Regions from separate parts of the Homo sapiens genome. Here regions 1, 2 and 3 are each linked to region 4. The links are contacts of gene promoters, found by promoter capture Hi-C in human tissues and cell types (Jung and others, 2019). All regions are on one chromosome and are shown on one strand. The core of a region is centred on a gene start or on the middle of the fragment in contact, and the rest is flanking DNA. Distances in the headings are between cores, read along the strand shown. Region 1 holds the start of ZNF443 (zinc finger protein 443). Region 2 holds the start of ZNF799 (zinc finger protein 799). Region 3 holds the start of ZNF791 (zinc finger protein 791). Region 4 has its middle 4.4 kb from the start of ZNF69.

What was found. The method cuts DNA at HindIII sites, captures the fragments that hold promoters and counts their contacts. A contact is called where the count stands out against the background at its distance.
Region 1: the fragment with the promoter of ZNF443 here is called in contact with a fragment that was not itself captured in region 4 in 2 of the 25 tissues and cell types used here (IMR-90 fibroblasts and dorsolateral prefrontal cortex).
Region 2: a contact is called between the fragment with the promoter of ZNF799 here and a fragment that was not itself captured in region 4, in 5 of the 25 tissues and cell types used here (H1 embryonic stem cells, dorsolateral prefrontal cortex, liver and 2 more).
Region 3: the fragment with the promoter of ZNF791 here is called in contact with a fragment that was not itself captured in region 4 in 2 of the 25 tissues and cell types used here (dorsolateral prefrontal cortex and heart right ventricle).

What each region holds. Positions count from the first base shown.
Region 1 is chr19:12,438,910-12,442,416 of GRCh38, forward strand. It overlaps ZNF443 (zinc finger protein 443), which reads right to left and starts at 2,112. Exons shown (of 4, transcript NM_005815.5): 1 at 2,003-2,112. The coding sequence starts at 2,005. RefSeq lists a silencer at 1,791-1,880 and an enhancer at 2,291-2,560. The HindIII fragment of the contact is 16,773 bases long and covers 1-3,507 here.
Region 2 is chr19:12,399,519-12,402,714 of GRCh38, forward strand. ZNF799 (zinc finger protein 799) reads right to left here and starts at 1,753. Exons shown (of 4, transcript NM_001080821.3): 1 at 1,550-1,753. The coding sequence starts at 1,552. RefSeq lists enhancers at 1,048-1,137, 1,858-1,907 and a silencer at 1,368-1,527. The HindIII fragment of the contact is 18,323 bases long and covers 1-3,196 here.
Region 3 is chr19:12,609,085-12,612,627 of GRCh38, forward strand. It overlaps ZNF791 (zinc finger protein 791), which reads left to right and starts at 1,836. Exons shown (of 4, transcript NM_153358.3): 1 at 1,836-1,998. The coding sequence starts at 1,996. It overlaps ZNF490 (zinc finger protein 490), which reads right to left and starts at 1,729. Exons shown (of 5, transcript NM_020714.3): 1 at 1,480-1,729; 2 at 74-118. The coding sequence starts at 1,596. RefSeq lists enhancers at 1,398-1,617, 1,948-2,007 and a silencer at 1,748-1,807. The HindIII fragment of the contact is 50,335 bases long and covers 1-3,543 here.
Region 4 is chr19:11,881,762-11,884,967 of GRCh38, forward strand. No RefSeq gene overlaps it. Among named protein-coding and RNA genes, the nearest start is that of ZNF69, 4.4 kb to the right of the region's middle. The HindIII fragment of the contact is 6,745 bases long and covers 1-3,206 here.

The sequences.
Region 1 (3,507 bases), core at 862-3,361, 560 kb after region 4:
TTTCACGGTTAATCAAAAATTTAGGCTGAAAAGAGTAAACATATCTTTTCAAGCTAACAAACTCAGGAATCAGCAGTGCTGACTGGAACACAGAAAAGTCTAATGCAACAATCAGTGCAGGTCATCCTATCACCTGGGACATCCCTTAACCCTATTCTGTTCGCCACCCTCCTAGGAGACACTCACCACCCTCCTAGGAGACACTGCCTTGTGTGCTTTTCAGGATCTTGCACTACCTCAAAGGGCAGGTTCTCCAGTCCTTAGATATAACTTTCTACCTTTTAAGTCTGAGAGAGTCCAGAAGGCAAAAATCATTTCCGTTTTTTTTCCTATGGAATATGACCATGAAATTGGCTGTTCAGTCATGTGTCTCCAAGGAATGGAAACTAGGGTTGGGAAGAAAAGGTGAGTGTCCCAGGAGTTAGCTTTTTACAGGAATTATATACCAGAAGATTCCTCCCATCCCAGTGGATCCAGTTGCTCCCCAGGGGGCCACACCTTCCATCTCAGGCTGTCCCCTGGGAGGAGTGACCCAGGGGATGATATTCACTAGACCCTCCAAGAGACTTGGCAGCTGTGGACATCCATTTTTTTTGAGACAGGGTCGGCCTCTGTTGCCTAGGCTGGGATGCAGAGGCACGATCATAGCTCACTGCAACTTCAAACTCCTGGGCTCCAGCCATCATCCCACCTCAGCCTCAGGAGTAGCTGCGACTACAGGTGCCAGCTACCAAGCCCAGCTAATTTTATTATTATCATTTACACTAGAGACAAAGTCTTGCCATGTTGCCCAGGCTGGTCTGGAACTACTGGGATCAAGCAATACCTCTGCCTTAGCCTCCCAAGGTGCTGGAATTACAGGAATGACCCACCGTGTTCAGGAACCCAAAACAATTCTTTCAAGAAAAAGCCATACATTGCTAGCTGAAAACAAGATGACAAACTAGTGAAATATCGCCTGGGGCCAAACAGTTCATACTGTTGCTGTGAATTAAGGACAGAAGGTTAGCCTGGGGAAGTCTCTGGAAACCAAGAGATTTGCTGCCAGCCCTAGGAAGAGTCAGGATGAGAGAACACAGTGGTGGATTTGAGACCCTGCTGCCCACGTCTTTGGAAGACTCAGAGGGGAAACGGTCGCCCTTGGAAAGGAAGAAAGGACTGAGGACCACGGAAACCACAGCTCCTCCCACACACAAACCCCACACACGAGTCTGGATTCCACCTGGTGACTCGTCGTCACCGTGCAGCCTCCTCACCGGGTTCACAGGAACTGCGAGCCAGGCTGGAGGCGAGATTGCAGTTAGATATTAAACAGGTGCCCTCAGCCCCGCTGCCTCAAGGGGCCGCCTCCCTGAGAGTCAGGTCACAGCAGACGCTGACCGCCGGCTTCCCCATTGTGCCTGGGGATAAGATCTCCGAGTGCTGCTCAAGAGTCGCCGGAGTTCTCAGATCCTGAATCCCAGCAGAAAGGCTGGCGCCAACCAGGTTGAAGACCCCACGAGGGAGCCCTCTCAGCAGAATGCGGTTTCTTCACCTCCTGTCCCAGGATTCACCCCTCACTTCCCCACCAACCAAGGACGCTACACCCAGCCGCCCCCGTCCAGACCCCAAATCCCTCAGGGAGGCGGATCTGGGGTGTCCTCCCCTCTCCTCCTGTTAAACCGTTTCTGCTGCAGCCCTCGGCGTCTCGGTGCAGTGAGTCGGGCCGCGAACCTGTGTTGGTTACAGCCGCACAATCTGGGGAGACCCGGGGCTGCGGGCTCGGAGCTGCCCAGAGAGGGCGCCGGGGCCGCAGTCGCCGCGCAGGAACGGGACAGGACGCCCGGGGTCCCGGCTGCATGCCCAGCCCCACCCTGCGGCCGAGGGCCGACCTACGCCAGGGGGACCCGGGTCCGTAGATCCCGAAGTCGCCCTTGGGGAGGCCCGGGTCCAGCCACAGCCGATTACGGCCGGTTCCACCTAACCCCTCCCCCGCCTCGGGACGCCGGCCCAGCACACGCACCATTTCCCGACTTCCGCGGTGTCCCAGGTCCTACCGACAGCTCCCGCTGCCAATGCGTGTTCCAGCCAGACAAAGGCTGCCTCAGAACTTCCAGGTCGTCTCTCAGCTACAGAACCCAGAGCCGAGCGCAGGTGGGTGGAGCAGACGCCGCGGGCTTTTTCAACCACACACACTTCTCTGGGCAGTGCCTGATTGACAGTTCCCACGAACCCGCCCCACGCCCCTGATTGGATAGGGCGTCAGGTCCCGCCCCCTGAGGGCTGATTGACAGAAGAAGCGATCTTGCACAGCTGAGTGGAGCCGGATGAGCAAGTTCCTGACACAGCCCTTGGCAGGGGGGGCTTCCTCCCTGCTCTTTGATCTGAATCCTCCCGGGTTATATTTGCACTTAAGCGGAATTTCCTGCCCGTACTCAATAGGACCTCCTGCTTCTTCCTCCTGGACACGGACTGACAAACTAATTATATCTTTTTTTTTTTTTTTCCTCGAGAGGGAGTCTTGCTCTGTCGCCCAGGCTAGAGTGCAATGGTGCGAGGCTCACTGCAACCTTCGCCTCCTGGGTGGGTTCAAGCAATTCTCCTGCCTCAGCCTCCCGAGTAGCTAGGATTACAGGCACGCGCCACCACCCGGCTAATTTTTGTATTTTTCAGTAGAGGCTGGGTTTCACCATGTTGGCCAGGCTGGTCTCAAACTCGTGACCTCGTGATCCGCCTACCTTGGCCTCCCAAAGTTCTGGGATTAGAGGCGTGAGCAACTGCGCCTGGCTCCAATTATGCTCTTTTTCAATGAAATTTTTCAAGATTTTTCAATGTACAATTAAATTATTTTTTACTATAGTCACTCTGTTGTGCTAGCAAATACTAGGTCTTATTCATTCTTTGTAACTATTTTTTATACCTATTAACCATCCCCACTTCCCCCATAACTACTCCTCGCTACTACTTTTCGCAGCCTCTGGTAACCATCCTTCTACACATTTTTGGTTGTTTGAGATGGGGTCTTGCTCTGTTACCTAGGCTGGAGTGCAGTGGGGCCATCATGGCTCACTGCAACCTCTACCTCCTAAGCTCAAGCAATCCTCCCACCTCAGCCTCTCAAGTAGCTTCAGATTGTTCACTGTTGGCATATAAAAATGTTATTGATTTTTGTGTGTTGATATTGTATACTGCAACTTTACTGAATTTATTTCTCAGTTCTAATACTTTTTTGGTGGAGTCTTTAGGTATTTCCAGATATAAGATCATATTATATGCAAACAAGGATAATTTGACTTCTTCCTTCCCAATATGGATGCCCTTTATTTCTTTTTTTTTCTTTTTTTTTTTTTTGTCTTATTGCTCTAGCTGGGACTTCAAGTACTGTGTTGAACAACAGTGGTAAAAGTGGGCATTCTTATTGTGTTCCAGATCTTACAGGAAGGGCTTTCAGTTTTTCCCCATTCATTATCATGCTAGCTGTGGGTCTGCCATATATAGCTTTTATTATGTTAAGGTATGCTCCTTCTT
Region 2 (3,196 bases), core at 503-3,002, 520 kb after region 4:
ATCCCAGTGGATCCAGTTGCTCCCCAGGGGGCCACACCCCCCATCTCAGGCTGTCCCCTGGGAGGAGTGACCCAGGGGATGATATTCACTAGACCCTCCAAGAGACTTGGCAGCTGTGGACACCCTTTTTTTTTTTTTTTTTTGAGACAGGGTCGGCCTCTGTTGCCTAGGCTGGGATGCAGAGGCACGATCATAGCTCACTGCAACTTCAAACTCCTGGGCTCCAGCCATCATCCCACCTCAGCCTCAGGAGTAGCTGCGACTACAGGTGCCAGCTACCAAGCCCAGCTAATTTTATTATTATCATTTATACTAGAGACAAGGTCTTGCCATGTTGCCCAGGCTGGTCTGGAACTACTAAGATTAAGCAATACCTCTGCCTTAGCCTCCCAAGGTGCTGGAATTACAGGAATGACCCACCGTGTTCAGGAACCCAAAATAATTCTTTCAAGAAAAAGCCATACATTGCTAGCTGAAAACAAGATGACAAACTAGTGAAATATCGCCTGGGGGCCAAACAGTTCATACCGTTGCTGTGAATTAAGGACAGAAGGTTAGCCTGGGGAAGTCTCTGGAAACCAAGAGATTTGCTGCCAGCCCTAGGAGGAGTCAGGATGAGAGAACACAGTGGTGGATTTGAGACCCTGCTAACCACATCTTTGGAAGACTCAGAGGGGAAACGGTCGCCCTTGGAAAGAAAGAAGGGACTGAGGACCACGGAGACCACAGCTCCTCCCACACACAAACCCCACACACGAGTCTGGATTCCACCTGGTGACTCGTCGTCACCGTGCAGCCTCCTCACCGGGTTCACAGGAACTGCGAGCCAGGCTGGAGGCGAGATTGCAGTTAGATATTAACCAGGTGCCCTCAGCCCCGCTGCCTCAAGGGGCCGCCTCCCTGAGAGTCAGGTCACAGCAGACGCTGACCGCCGGCTTCCCCATTGTGCCTGGGGATAAGATCTCTGAGAACTGCTCAAGAGTCGCCGGAGTTCTCAGATCCTGAATCCCAGCAAAGGCTGGCGCCAATCAGGTTGAAGTCCCAACGAGGGAGCCCATTCAGCAGAATGCGGTTTCTTCACCTCCTGTCCCAGGATTCACCCCTCACTTCCCCACCAACCAACGACCCTACACCCAGCCGCCCCCGTCCAGACCCCAAATCCCTCAGGGAGGCGGATCTGGGGTGTCCTCCCCTCTCTGGCTATTAAACTGTTTCTGCTGCAGCCCTCAGCGTCTCGGTGCAGTGAGTCGGGCCGCGAACCTGTGTTGCTTACAGCCGCACAATCTCGGGAGACGCGAGGCTGCGGGCGCGGAGCTGCCCAGAGAGGGCGCCGGGGCCGCAGTCGCCGCGCAGGAACGGGACAGGACGCCCGGGGTCCCGGCTGCATGCCCAGCCCCACCCTGCGGCCGAGGGCCGACCTACGCCAGGGGAACCCGGGTCCGTAGATCCCGGAGTAGCCCTTGGGGAGGCCCGGGTCCAGCCACAGCCGATTACTGCAGGTTCCACCCAGCCCCTCCCCCGCCTCGGGACGCCGGCCCAGCACACGCACCATTTCCCGACTTCCGCGGTGTCCCAGGTCCTCCGGACGGCTCCCGCTGCCAATGCGGGTTCCCGCGGGACACAGGCTGCCACGGAACTTCCAGGTCGTCTCTTAGCTACAGAGCCGAGCACCGAGCGCCCAGCGCAGGTGGGTGGAGAAGACGCCGCGGGCTTTTTCAACCACACACTCCTCTGGGAAGCGCGCCTGATTGACAGTTCCCACGAACCCGCCCCACGGCCCTTACTGGATACGGCGTCAGGTGCCGCCCCTCGTGGACTGATTGACAGAAGAAGCGATCTTGCACAGCTGAGTGGAGCCAGATGAGCAAGTTCCTGACACAGCCCTTGGCAGGGCGGGCTTCCTCCCTGCTCTTTGATCTGAATCCTCCCGAGGGATATTTGCACTTAAGCGGAATTTCCTGCCTGTACTCAATAGGACCTCCTGCTTCTTCCTCCTGTACACTGACTGACAAAACAATTATACTTTTTTTTTTTTTTTTTTTTTTTTTTCCGAGAGAGAGAGAGAGAGAGAGAGAGAGAGAGGGAGTCTTGCTCCGTGGCTCAGGCTAGAGTGCAATGGTGCGAGGCTCACTGCGACCTCCGCCTCCTAGGTGGGTTCAAACAATTCTGCCTCAGCCTCCCGAGTAGCTGGGATTACAGGTGCGCGCCACCACACCCGGCTAATTTTTGTATGTTTTAGTAGAGGCCGGGTTTCACCATGTTGGCCAGGCTGGTCTCGAACTCCTGACCTCGTGATCCGCCCACCTTGGCCTCCCAAAGTTCTGGGATTAGAGACGTGAGCCATCGCGCCTGGCTCCAATTATACTCTTTTTCAATGAAATTTTTCAAAATATTTCAATGTACAATTAAATTATTTTTTACTATAGTCACTCTGTTGTGCTAGCAAATACTAGGTCTTATTCATTCTTTGTAACTATTTTTTATACCTATTAACCATCCCCACTTCCCCCATAACTACTCCTCGCTACTACTTTTCCCAGCCTGTGGTAACCATCCTTCTACACGTTTTTGGTTGTTTGAGATGGGGTCTTGCTCTGTTGCCTAGGCTGGAGTGCAGTGGGGCCATCATGGCTCACTGCAACCTCTACCTCCCAAGCTCAAGCAATCCTCCCACCTCAGCCTCTCAAGTAGCTTCAGATTGTTCACTGTTGGCATATAAAAATGTTACTGATTTTTGTATGTTAATATTGTATCCTGCAACTTTACTGAATTTATTTCTCAGTTCTAATACTTTTTTGGTGGAGTCTTTAGGTATTTCCAGATATAAGATCATATTATATGCAAACCAGGATAATTTGACTTCTTCCTTTCCTTCCCAATATAGATGCCCTTTATTTCTTTTTTTTTTTTTTTTTGGACTTATTGCTCTAGCTGGGACTTCGAGTACTGTGCTGAACAACAGTGGTAAAAGTGGGCATTCTTATTGTGTTCCAGATCTTACAGGAAAGGCTTTCAGTTTTTCCTCATTCATTATCATGCTAGCTGTGGGTCTGCCATATATGGCTTTTATTATGTTAAGGTAGCTGCTTCTATACCCAGTTTTTTTTTAGGGTTTTTATCATGAAGGGATGTTAAATATTATCAAAAGCTTTTTCAGTGCACATTGAAATGATTATATGGTGTTTGCCCTTTATTC
Region 3 (3,543 bases), core at 586-3,085, 730 kb after region 4:
ATAGAAGGACAGACCCAAATGGTCATTATAAACAAGGAAGGTAGCCACGCTGACAGGTAGCGATCTCACTTACAGTTTGAGTCTTGATGCTTTGTCCATGGTGTTCACTGTTCTGCATCTAATTAGAAACAAGAGGATGCATTTTGTGAGTTTCAGCAATTTAGAACTAAACATGACCTTTGACAGCCTTGGAAGCATTGTTCCCCCTGCATCTACCTGTACACACAGAGCTACCAGAAGGGTGGATCATGGGAGTTTTCAAGATTACACTGTCTCCTCTATAATGGGAAAAATGAAATATGTTTCTACTTTAAAAAAAAAATTTAGAGACAGTCTCTCTCTCTCCCAGGCTGGAATGCAGTGGCACAATCTTGGCTCACTGTAACCTCAAACTCTTAGCCTTGAGATCCTTCTGCCTCAGCCTCCGAAGGAGCTAGGACTACAGGTGAACACCATACCCAGCTAATTTTTAAAAATTTTTTGAGAAATGGGGTCTCGCTATGTTGCCCAGGCTGGTTTTGGGCTCTTGGTCTTTCCAAGTTCTGTAGGGACACTTTAGAAAACTTATTTGAGATAAATTTCCTTCCACTTTACAGCAACACGGATGGAACTGGAGGCCATTATCCTAAGTGCGATGATGCAAAAACAGAAAGTCAAAAACTGCATCTTCTTACATATAAGTGGGAGCTAAACAATGGGTAAACATGGACATACAGAATGGAATAATAGACACTGGAGATGCCAATAGGTTGGACAGAGAGGGGGGATGAGGGATGAAATATTACCTATTGGGTACAATATACACTCTTTGGGTGATGGGTGCACTAAAAGCCAGACTTCGCCACTATGAAATATATCCACGTAACACAAGTGCATTTGTAACCATAAATCTACAAAAATAAAAATAAAAATGAAAAGCAATAAAAACATGCTTAAACTAAAAACAAACAAACAAAAAAACAACGAAAACAAACCATTTCCTTCCAGAGTAAAACGCAGTTTACTGAGCACGTCTCATAGATCGTGATTGGTCTGAAGAGTCCCTGTGCCCAGGTTAGGGTTGCAATTTACCACCCGAGCCAAGTGCTCGGGTGTCCTACGGATTGTTTTTTCTTTCTTTCCTTTTTTTTTTTTTCTTGGGATGGGTTCTGGCCATGTTGCCCAGACTGAACTCAAACTCCTGGAGTCAAGCGATCCACCCGCCTCAGCCCACCCACCCCCCGACCTCCCCCACCGCCCCCACCACGCAGTAGCTGGGACTACGGGTGTGCGCCACCAAGCCCTGCCTTGGGGTTCCTTTTCTAAAGTGCCAAATGTGTGGAGGTGGGGAAAAGAAAGGTGGACGCCTCAACGCTGTTATGGTCAAAGATTAAAATGCAACCACACTTTTTATTACACATGATGGGGTAACCGTCTGTTTATAAACAAGGGTCACTATTCCACGAGAGGCCTTACAACATTATGCCAAGCCCCTGGTACCTGGAGGACATCAGACCCTCCTGTTCCTGTGCGGCCTTGACTAGACGACCACTTGCTCTGGACTTGCTCCTCGAGGGGTCGCTCCATCTGGAAACTGAGACTGGAATTCCTGCGCATCCCTGTCCCCGCATCCAGAAACACTGCAGGAAGACTTCCGTGTCCGACCCGAGATCCGGAACAATTTCTGCTTCAACACAATTGTCCACGGAGGGCACCAGTTCCGTCCCACCGGCGGAAGCGAGATCTGCCTAGCTACTAGACCTGCTGCCTAGCTGTCATTCGGACAAAAAGGGGCGGGGCTGTATAATTGTCCAATCAGGGGCGGCGCCGGAAAGGAGGGTACGGCTACGCTGCGCAAATGCGTGCTACGTCACTGTGCGATCGGGTTGTGCTTAGCTTGGGGTCTCCTGGCCCCTTGACGCGTCAGGTTGCTGTACCCCTGCATCGGATGCGCTGTACCCTGCGCTGGCTCCGTGAACCTTAGGGACAACACCGGGACACCCGCGAGGCCGGAAAATGGTGAGTGTGCAGGGCCGGACTAGTTGGAACCGGCCGTGATCGCGGGACCCGGGCCTCCCCACGGTCACCTCCGGCCGCAGTGTGGGGCTGGGCTGGCAGCTGGAACTCCAAGCGTCCTGTCCCGTCCCTGCGCGGCGACTGCGGTCCCAGCCCCGGAGCCCTCTCTGGACAACTCCGCGCCCGCAGCCCCGCGTCTTTCCCAGATCGTGCAGGGACCACGGGAGGGTCCTGGGGAGAATCCCGCCTTGTGTGTTTGGTTTGTGTGGGAGGAGCTACAGTCTGGGGTTCCCAGTCCCTTCTTTCTTCCCAAAGGCTGTTTCCCCCTGAGTCTTCCAAAGATGTTGGAAGCAGAGTCTCAAATCCACTACCCTGTCCCCCCAGCCTAGCTCCTCCCACGGCGGGCCATTAATCCCTAGATTTCCGGATCCCTCCCCGAATTCCCAAACGCCTACTTCCGCTCGCCAGTGGAAAACATCGTCACCAACTCTTTGTCCTGTGTGGTGCATTTCAAACACACGCAGTATTTTAATAATCTTTTTTCCAATAGATGCCTCTTTTAAACGATTTATTTCTTGTTTGTGGATATTTTACATCAGAGAAAAATCAGAAAAATTATTCACTTGGAACTAATCTGCATAAAATGCTGTGGCCCTCATCCTGGTACCTTTCCAGGGCACAGACATCCTATGGGAACTCCTTTGCGTTGAGGTTCCTTTTTGTAAACTTTCCTGGGTAATCTATCTTTTCAGCACAGTTTCAGATTGGCACTGTCCCGCCTTGGGTTTATGACCTTGAAAAGATTTATTCACTCGAATGTCATTTTTCCAATAAATATAAAATATATGTTATCAGAAGAACTTGAGAGACAGTACAAAATATTTCCAAAGGGCAAAAAAGAAATGAATCTCAGAAAACAAAAAACATCCCAATATTACATTTGTTAAAAATTCTTTGTTCTTTCCCTGAGCACATGGAATATGTTTCTCAGGTCTGTTCTTTTAGTTTGATGTTTCAGATGGTATTCCAGGACTTAAACTTGCAACATCTAGAAGCATTCAGATAGAAGTAATACTTTTGTAAACTATTTATTGCCATGGAAATAATTAACTGACATTATTATTTTCTTTTTTTTTTTTTTAACAGATGGGGTCTGGCTGTGTTGCTCAGGCTGATCTTGAACTCCTGGGCTCAAGCGATCCTCCACCCTCAGCATCCCAAAGTGCTAGGATTCCAGGCATGAGCTACTATTACCGGCCCAACATTCTCATTTTCTGAAAGCAATAGTGGGTTTTCTTGTTAAATGGCTTAAAATTTTCTTGCTTCCTTCCTTTATTTATTTATTTATTTATTTATTTATTATTTATTTACTTTTTTTTTTGAGACGGAGTCTAGCTTTCTCGCCAGGCTGGAGTGCAGTGACACGATCTCAGCTCACTGCAACCTCTGCCTCTCGGGTTCAAGCGATTCTCCTGCCTCAACCTCCCAAGTAGCTGGGATTACAGGCACAAGCTACCACGCCCAGCTAATTTTTGTATTTTTTTTTTT
Region 4 (3,206 bases), core at 196-2,695:
AGAAAAAGCAATTAGTGATAAAATATTGCTGTTCCATTTAGACTCAAGAACGAATCCTTGAACCCTTAGTTTTCTGGCCAGAATTTAAGTCGAATGAGGGATGGATTTGTGAACTTCTAATAGAAAATGTTGCTAGTAGAAGACCTGCCTCCTGAGAAGAAACAAATTATGCCCTATGTTAGTTGCAAGGAGTTGTCCTTTCCCCTCCTCCAAGGATTGAAAGGAGCAAGTCAAAAACTAATATTTGGAGGAAAATGAGTTGTACATGTGCCCTATTAAGATAGAACCATCTTTAATGAAAAAGACAGTGAAGGAAGGGGCTTGGGGGATCCTAGCAAAAAGAACAACTCGCAAGATCCCCTAGACCATTCCCCACCTAATACCCAACCCTTCCCCTCAGGCATCGCCCAGTAAGTCTGTTCTTCCCCAGCCTAAGTCCCTCTCCCCTAAAGAACTCCAAGCTCCTAATTCACCAGATGGCTTTTGCCAGGCTAGCAACATGAAGGATCTGCCGCAACATGTTGTCAGCGTTGTCTGGCCCATAGTGCACCCCTGCAGCGGCAAAGCCCATGCTCCTGCCCACTGGCTGGTCCAAGGTCCTGGCACTGTATTGACGGCAGCTCTGCATGACATGCGAGCCAGGCCCCAGCCTATGCCCCATGCAAACTACATTATAGGATATCTGCCTTACTTTGCTGAGGCTAAGTAATACGGGGCTTCAGCGATGGCTCCAAGCAGCCTGGCATCCCCGCAGCTAAGTTTCCTGAGCAAGAAGTAGATAATCTTTCAGCGGATATATCCACTAGCATTTATTATAGTCAGGCCAGTGTTAAAAGTGAAAATATCCACCAGAAAAGAACTCTGATTCTTTAAAGTCACCTATGTTAAAATGTACCACCAAAAAAGAATTACATGTGTATAAATATGAGGCTATTCTGTTAAAAATGATAGTTTAATGTTACTAGTAATTTGCTTAACCTAACAAGTTTCTTAACGAAAGATCCAAATCTAAAAAGGAAGCACACATGTTTAGATTTAACTGATTACCATACAAATGTCCGGCCAAACTTAAGAGAAACCCCCTTCAAAAATGATTAAAGGAAAAAGGATTCAACAGATGTTCAATAATAAATAGAGAAGTTCCTAGAGAAATAAAATTTAAAAATTGTTTAATAGTTTACCCAAATTTGTAAGCTGTTTGCACTTAGTCAAGCTTTAAAGTAACTGCAAAGGAACCATCTATACTAATCTATATTGATTCTAAATACACCTTTATCGTGGCTCATACATTTAGAAAATTTCAGACAATAATAAAGGTCAAAGCCTTGTTCATGAAGAGTTAATAACCCAAGTGTTAAATAACCTTCAGTTACCAGAAAAAAAAAAAAAGCTATTTTCCACGTCCCCAGGCACCAAAAATCCTATCTTTCAAGAGTTAAGAAAATAACCTAGCAAATCAGATAATCCGAACCAGCTGCCGTTTCTCCTGTAGGCACTGAAGGGAATTCAAATGTTATTTAAACCTCTTATGAAAGAAGTCCTATCCCACCTAAATTAGAGGACCCATTAAAGACCTCAAGCTATGTATAGCACAGTTAAAGTTTATATGTGTATGAAAATGTACATCCTTAGCCAAACAAGTCTAGAAACTTAGTTGCCATAACTCAAATGTCTTCTGTCTTCCTATTAATCCAAACTACCTCTCAAAGCAATCCACTGCCAACATTCCTACATACTTGGTTTATCTTCCACTTTCTCTTCCCTCAAAACTCACAATTTTCCAGTACAGGTGCGGCTCCTGGAGTTCCCAGTGCGTCAACACCGGCCTGAGGAGCTGGCCTAGTACTTCCCACCATTGAAACTGCAGTCTGGACAGCAGAGAAAGGATAGACCCATCACACCCGAGTCAAGAAAGCACCGCCACCCCCAAAGTCGTAGGCCATTATTCCAGGGGAAAACCCCCTCAAACTAAAGCTAAGAAAAATTTAACCTCTTACATCTATTCTATTACTCTTTCTTCTTTTCCCCTTCCAATGCTGACCACCTTGTCATTAATGTAACTCAATCAAACTCACCCCAAGTTATCACGTTTAATGCTATGTCTAGTCATACCCTGTAAAGATCTCCAAAGTCAAAGACAAGTCTCAGCCTCAGAAAAGTATCTCTGCCCCTTTAAGGTGAAAGGCCCCCCCTACCAAGACTCTTGTTCCTTAACAAATATAAGAAAACAAGTCTGTCATAGCTAGAATGATGTCCTATGGACAACCAAATGTCAAGGCTAGACCTCATCAGCAGGTGGCTGTATATCCTTAAAACCATACATTCATTTCACTAAAAAAAGCACCTCCCCAATTGCCAGTATAATCAATGTAATCCCATACAAATTTCCACCTCTACTGACCCTAAACCTACTTTAAGTCACTTCTATGGAACAGGAGCCAACTTGGCCAGCACAGACCTCATAAGATCTTTCGAAATGCGTTTTATTAATCCTTCATTCTCTTCACCCCCTTCCTTCTCTTCTCCTTCTAAGCTTTCTTCTAATCAGACTGCCACCTGTTTTCTACCTAATGATACTACTAAAGTAAATATTGTAGAAGTAAAAGATTTAAGACAAACCCTAGCAATTAAAACAGGATATCAAGATGTAAATACCTGGTTGGAATGGATTCAATATTCCGTCCGCACATTGAACAAAAGCAATTGTTACGCTTGTATGCATGGCAGACTAGAGGCCCAGACTGTTTCCTTTCCACTAGGATAGCCCTTCAGCCGACCAGGCATAGGCTGTATGGTAGCTCTTTTCCAAAATTCCACAGCCTGGGGCAACAAATCATGCCAAGCTCTCTCTCTGCTATATCCCGAAGTCCAACAACCTGCAGGCCAGCCCCCAAAGGCCATTCAGCTTCCTTCTCCTGACGTCAATTTCACCTCATGTCTCTCACGACGAGGGGAGAATCTGGCGTTCCTTAGAAGCTTAACAAGATGCAATAAGCTTAAGCCCTTCCAAAAACTTACCCATCAGTCTGCCCTTAGTCATCCTCAAGCAGATGTATGGTGGTATTGTAGTGGACCTTTACTGGATACTCTGCCAAGTAACTGGAGCGGCACTTGCGCTCTTGTCCAATTGGCGATCCCTTTCACACTGGCATTTCATCAACCAAAAAAAAAGAAAAGCCACAACACCAAAAAATAAGAGAAGCCCC